Regions from separate parts of the Homo sapiens genome. Here region 1 is linked to region 2. Evidence: promoter capture Hi-C in human tissues and cell types (Jung and others, 2019). All regions are on one chromosome and are shown on one strand. Each heading gives the region's core, a stretch centred on a gene start or on the middle of the fragment in contact. The rest is flanking DNA. Distances are from core to core; before and after follow the strand shown. Region 1 has its middle 57 kb from the start of TMCO5A. Region 2 holds the start of MEIS2 (Meis homeobox 2).

The links. The method cuts DNA at HindIII sites, captures the fragments that hold promoters and counts their contacts. A contact is called where the count stands out against the background at its distance.
Region 1: a fragment that was not itself captured here is called in contact with the fragment with the promoter of MEIS2 in region 2 in 1 of the 25 tissues and cell types used here (dorsolateral prefrontal cortex).

What each region holds. Positions count from the first base shown.
Region 1 is chr15:37,876,013-37,879,321 of GRCh38, reverse strand. No RefSeq gene overlaps it. Among named protein-coding and RNA genes, the nearest start is that of TMCO5A, 57 kb to the left of the region's middle. The HindIII fragment of the contact is 5,498 bases long and covers 1-3,309 here.
Region 2 is chr15:37,098,738-37,102,022 of GRCh38, reverse strand. It overlaps MEIS2 (Meis homeobox 2), which reads left to right and starts at 1,474. Exons shown (of 12, transcript NM_170675.5): 1 at 1,474-2,568. The coding sequence starts at 2,557. It overlaps LOC124903465 (a long non-coding RNA gene), which reads right to left and starts at 2,775. Exons shown (of 2, transcript XR_007064581.1): 1 at 2,594-2,775; 2 at 1-2,222. RefSeq lists silencers at 104-243, 2,693-2,752, 2,903-3,102 and enhancers at 944-1,223, 1,474-1,633. The HindIII fragment of the contact is 11,980 bases long and covers 1-3,285 here.

The sequences.
Region 1 (3,309 bases), core at 281-2,780, 780 kb before region 2:
TTTACTTGAAGGATTTGAAAAAGTCAAAATCATTCTGCTACCTAGTTTTCAGGGTTGTGTACCCATCCACTGTAGTTATTCTATTTAATGTGAATATGTTTTTTAAAATGCCTAAACAGACAGTGTTCATTTTATGTGTTTCATCAAAAGAAACAGAACAATGAGGCAACAGAAATATAGAATTTAGCAAACCATTTTAAGCTTATGGTGAAATCTGTCTTTTGCAAGAGAAGCAACCAAATCATTAAAACATTTTATTCTTCCCCAAATCCTCCATTATATTTCTTAACCTTAATTTTGTGATGCCAACAAGTAAACAAAAATAGCTTTAAAAAACTACACTTAAAATTTTTAAAAATATTGGTCACGACAGATTGAAACATTTAAAAAATTATTTCAAGCATTTCACTGGAAATTCTTTTGCAATGGCTAGCGTAGGTGGCAGATTGATCATTTTGGGGGAGGCAAGGAATAGGAAGTGAGGAGGTTACAGTGATCTCTAGACTAATTTATTTGTTTTGCTGCATTGAAGTCAGATACCCTCTTATTAGGGAGCAGCTTTCAAAGCAGTCAGGAAGGACACCGATCTTGAGCTTGGTGAGAGCTTTGCTTGGGGTTACAAAACAAGCACACGGCAGGGTCAGTGCTAAATATCTTTAACCCCGTTAAGGAGGCAACTGAATTAGGGCTGTGGGGGAAAAAGTCCCTCCCCCCTGAAATGCAAGAGAAATCTCCAGATTCACATGAGTAACTTTCAGCTGGGTATTATGCTCCTGAAGTAACCTCTTCATTCCCATTGTTTTAGTGTGAAATCATTTCCTCAGGAGATAATTAGAGTTGCTCCATTTATTACATTAAATGATTAGCATGCACTTGAAATGATCCAGTGTATTTTCCTTTATTGCTGATGACTCTTAAATATGGGCCTCCATTCTTAACGGATAAATTAAAGTTGTCTTGGCTCTTTGTAACCGACTATGTAGCCAAACAAGAGAGACTTTCTTTTCCAAACATAGGCCAGGTGTGCTGTGGCTGAGGTCTAGGTCTGAAGAGATCCTATTCATATAGATGTCCCACCTGGTTCAACAAAGAGCTTGATAACATTGCTTAAAGGTTTTCTCTACTAGCCCCTTAATAAAAATGCTTTTAATGACAGTACTTTATCTGGCATTACTCATCCTATGTGTGGAGTAAGTAAGTTTAACATAAAGTGACCCAAGATCACATTTCAAAAAACTGCCTCACTGGAAAGGCATGCACATTATCTGAGTAAGCAATATGCCCTACAAAGCCATGGAAAAATGATATTTTAAGAATTACCAAATATAGATTTCATTTGGATGCAAGTGCTTTTCGCTGTCTTTGAACTAACCTGGTTGTGTAACTGACAGAGTCATCTAAAATCCACTGGAAAGTTCGGATCAAGCAGGCACTGCCTGGTAAATAGGCACCATTGCATATGTAATTAGAGAAATGAGAGATAAACTGGGTGCATCTTATATTTGGTTTATATATTGAGATTTACAAGAAATAATAAATGGAATTTAAGTGTTATGTTTGTTAAAAAATTTAAATCGGTATTTAGGTATGAGATGTAAACATGCACAGATGTAAAGACAAACTATGATGAAGACCTACCAGTTTCACATTCGTCTACTCTAAATGTGTGAGTATCTCTCATAAATTTCATTGTTAAGAGAGAATTTTACTTGAAGAGAAGAGTTTTAAAGAACATAATTGAAAAAATTTCCTGCAAACTTCCAATAGTTTTATATATTTTTGAGGATGAGGAGAAATTTTTCTGCCACCTAGACACGATGATTCAAAACTCTGTCATTTTGCTGTCATTGATTTGTTTATGTATTTGTTGTGTTCTAATAGCATTGTTATTTTCAAGAAAACACCGTGAGATGCTGTGGGAAGTTTCTGGTTCATGGCAATAACTGGAGAACGAAAAAGGAAAAGTGGAACAGACCGGGGGATGGGGGTGAAGTCAAGACTGTGCACTGACATTGTGGCCACAGTGATCCTTTCGTGAACAGGGTCGGGGGGCTGTTTTCATTCTCACACTCGGGTTTCTCAGGTATAGAGAATAGAGAATAAGTTACCAGAAATCAGGTATTTCTTTAGCAAGTGAGAAGAGGAATTTAATACTTCTCTCATATAATGCATTCACTGCTTCTCTCTGATAATTCATATCCCAGGAATGTTCACATAAATTCTCTGTAAACAGTAGCTAGCATTTTACCACCACAGAGCCAAATAAAAAACACCCATGGAAAAGTTATTTGTATCAGAACTATGATCTTCAGAAAGGAGGCCTGTCAATATTAATTGGAGGAGAATTTATTTTAGACCTAAAATGCTAGGATAGCAGCAATAATAACAACAACAAAAGACTTTTTTTGTTGTGCTTTGTTTTCTTGAGGGCAATCTTCACTCTCAAGCAATCTGAGCAACTGTGCAGAATTTCTTTCTGAAAGTTATTTAAAATATAATAAATTATAAATTATAAATTGTTATGCTCTGGTTAAATATTTAAATGACTTAAAAATTTTTGCATTTTCCTATTCACTTTAGCAGACAAGCATTTTCCATATTTAGTCTTTTATATGATAGCAAAATGCTGCGGGGCTCTGGCTGAGACACAGTAACTTTGGGAAAAACCCGATTTCTGAAGACCCAAGGTGTAATAACATTCTCTCAGCAACATCTCACATTGTCTTCCTGTTCGTGTTTACTCAGATGAGGCATACCATTGCAGAGGAGGAGAGAGGTTTCTAGATCATCTGGTCACATTTTAGATCAATAGCGACTCAGGTCCATAGACAGGACAGGATTCATCTGGACACACATGGTGGTCATGCCAGGACTTCTACCCAGTCCTCTAACTCTCCGTCTGGTGCTCCTTCTGCTACCATGGTAATACAGACTACAACAGAGAAATACCCAAAATGTCTTCTCCAGCCTCCAGCCTCTAGTTGGAAATGTTATTTACACATGGGAAATTCAGAGCATTCCAGTATGATTAGGTATGATCCTTATTGATGAATATTGCCACCAAATATGATTTTAATTCTATGCAACACAGATTTTATTTCAATTGCTTTAAGTGGATAATGGTCAAATTGTATTACCTTTCAGCTAGCCACACCAAAGAATCTTTGGGAGATGGCAAATTCAATTAATATAAAGGCATTGGCAATCTATTTATAGGAAGTCTATCTTTAATTTCTTTAAGAACTTCTGAGAGCACTGTCAAACCATGGCATTTGGAATTGGAGGAGATGTATTATCCAAAGAGTGCTA
Region 2 (3,285 bases), core at 225-2,724:
TCGCGGAAGACACTACTCTCCACTTCTCAGAATGGGTTCAAAGTTGGGGAGGGATGCGGCTGTTGGAGAACAACAGTCCGCTTTCCACTCTCTGGGCCAGGGACTGGGAGGGCGAGAGCGAGAAGTTGGGGAGAGGACGCGCTTCCAGCGCCTGTCCGCCCGGCCGCGCCACAAGGGGCCGAGGGGCATGGGGGCTGCTGGGCGGCAAGGCTTGCGCGGGGTGACCGTGGCTCCGCCCCCAACTCCGGGCTCGTAGTGATTGACGCGCGGCCGCCGGGAAACCAGCCGCGCAGAGGTGAAGCCTGGTGCAGCTCGGGCCAGGGAGGACAGGGCACCGGCCACAACTAGTTTCCACCCAAACGGTGTGGGGTAGTTCCCTTCGTTTCCTTTTCCTTTTTGGAAAAGTTCTTTCGGAGCTGGCCCCATCTCCCTGACCCCGCGAAATCGCCCCTGTGTAATTAACACAGCCATTAGCAGGCGTTACCGCGGCCCGCCGCTGCGCCTCGGGCGACCACAACAAAGCTGGGCTGTGAGCGCCGGCCACTCCTCCTCGCCCGGCAACTTCTTTCTCCCCCACTCTCTCCGTCTTTTCCTCCTGTGCTTCCCAGCTCTGAGTGAGATCCACTTTGGAGACGCACACTAGTCGCGCGCGCGCACGGGCGCGCGGGCGCGCGCGCGCACACACACACACACACACACACACACACACACACACACACGCCTTTGGCTACATCGGACCCAGATGACTGCCTCCTCACTTCCTCCCTCCCGATTCCGCCGCGGCCCCCAAAGACTCTCGGGGTGGCCCCTTGTCCGCACCGCTTGGAGGGAGTGTGCTCTGAGTTAAGCTGGTCTCTTCTGGTCCTGGAAAAAAATGAGTATTGACAAGGTTGCTGGATCTGCGCAGAAAAGAAAGTGCCACTTAATAAAAAATTTAGCCCGGCAGTGGTACCGTCTGCAGAGCTTGCTGCCCTTGGACGTTAGCAGGAAGCCTTCGGGGTGCTGTAATCGGCGGGCAGAGGAGAGGGAGGCCGCGGAATTAAAAGGAACAAAAGCTAGAGCGCCATGCCAAACGTCCCCGGCAAGACCCAGTTAGGCAGGAGCCGGGAGTGATGGGAAAATGAACTAGAAGTAAGTTTTTTTTTTTTTTTAAATGAAAAGATCTGAGGCGGTACCGTACTTTCCCTGTGGTTTTCTGCAGTTTTCCTCTCTGCGCTCTCCCTGTCCTCTTCTCTCTCCCCCTCTCCCTCTCTCCCTGTTCGCGCGCGCGCGCGCGCAACACACACGCGCGCACGCACACACATACACACACACTCACACACACAGACACACTCTCCTTTTCCTCCCCCCCGCCGTCCCCCATCCCCGTGGAGGAGCAGGCTTGCTGATTTGCTCGGGTCCGCCCGGCTCGAGCCTCCCCTCCCCCTCCCGCCCCCCCGCCTCCCCCACCCCCCCAGCCGGGGCTGTCCGATCGCACTCGTTGCATATCAGAGGCTCGGCGCGGCGCGCTCCTCCTCGCTCCCGCTCCCCACTCCCGGGATGTGTCTCCGCCGTACGACGGGCTATGGCCACCACGACTTCCGGGTTCCGTCATTTCGTTCTCCCGCCGCCGACCCGCGCCGCCAAACTGAGGCTCTTCAATAAGCCAGGCAGCAGCCAACCTGCCAACACCTACTGACACTCACTCATCTCCCAGAGAGAGAAAGAGAGCGAGAGAGAGCGAGCGCGAGAGAGCGAGCGCGAGTGAGAGCGAGCGAGCGAGCGAGAAAGAGAGAGAGGGAGAGACAAAATACCTACCAGGAAAGGGGGGGAGGAAGTCCAATTTTTGCAAACTATTCATTTTTTTTTCTTGATTTTTCTCACTGCTTTCTTTGAACAATACTTTAAAGAGAGAGGATCGTATTATAGATACCGCGGGGGCAAAGCTAAAAAAGGGGGGAGGGGGGAGGAAAAAATTCAAGAAGCAGAAACCCCTCGCGGAGTTTTACTGGAAGAAAAAAACGGGTCTGAAAGATTCCTCCTCTTCATCATCATCAACCATCATTCATTCACTACCTTGACATTCCGGGCTTTGATTGACAGCTGGAGTGGCAAAAAGCCATGAAACACGACAGTTCGGTTACATGTGGGCTGCTGACGGGCCGCTCGTAACCTTCAGTTCGGGGGCTTGACAATTTTTTTCTTCTTTTTCTTCTTTTTCTTTTCTTTCTTTTTTTTTCCAACTGAGGGGAAGAGAAGAGAAAGAGGGGGAAAGGAGGACCGAAGAGGAGGAGGAGGGGAGGGGGGAGGAGGAGGAGGTGGAGGAGGAGGAGGAAGATCAGGAGGAGGAGGAAGAAGAGGAAAAAAGAGAAAAAGAAGAAATATCACAGAAAAAAAAATTCTTCGTTGTCTAGACTGGGCTTTTTTTCCCCCCTAAAAAATAGCATATTGGAGAATTGGGAGAAGTCTCTTTGGTTTGGAAAAAAAAAAAAGGAATCTTCAGCCTAGATCACTTTCTTATCCGGACTGGGATATTAAATATACGACACATCCAGGAGTTTATTGGAGCGCAGACTGATGGCGCAAAGGGTAGGTTTAAATCTCCAACACTTACCTAGATATAAATCCTCTCCTAAGAGGGGCCTGTCCCGATGCCTCCTCTCCCTTCAACGCTTCTGCTGCTGCTCGCTGCTTGATGATGGCGGCCAGTATTTTAAAAAATAGCAAAATTATTCATCGGCTTCTTTCCCTCCCGTGCCTCTGCGTGTGTGCGAGTGTGTGTGCGTGCGTGTGTGCGTGTCTGGGCGCGCGTGTTCCAGCGCTGTGCGAGCGGGCGGGCGGCGAGTGCGTGTGAGTGGTGTGTGTGTGTGCGTGTGCAATCGTTACACGCTTTCGCCTCGCTCCAGCTTTTACCCCAGCAGCGCGATTCCCCCGGTTCTCCTGCTGCCGCTGCTGCGCCGCTGCCGCCGTGGCTCGCGCGGCTCGGGGCGGGCACGGGCTGCGTAGGAGCCGCCGCCGGGGCCGCCGCTGGGGCCGCGCTGCCGCAGCCGCTGCGCCGCCGCCTAGACTACTAGCCTGGGCTGCTTGTTTTGTCTCTGAAATTGACAAGGACGCAGGGAATCCGCTGCTAAATAATGTTTCTGGTAACTTTCACGTTATTCGCCCCCCCACCCTCCGCTCCCTGCCCCCGGGGAGGCACTGGCCCTAGTCTTTCCTAGTCCTCGGCGTTCTCGTGCTGATTATTAGCGTTTTTCTTCTCTTTATTTTGTTTCATTTCGCCTTTTGATTTATTGGATCCTCAGAGGA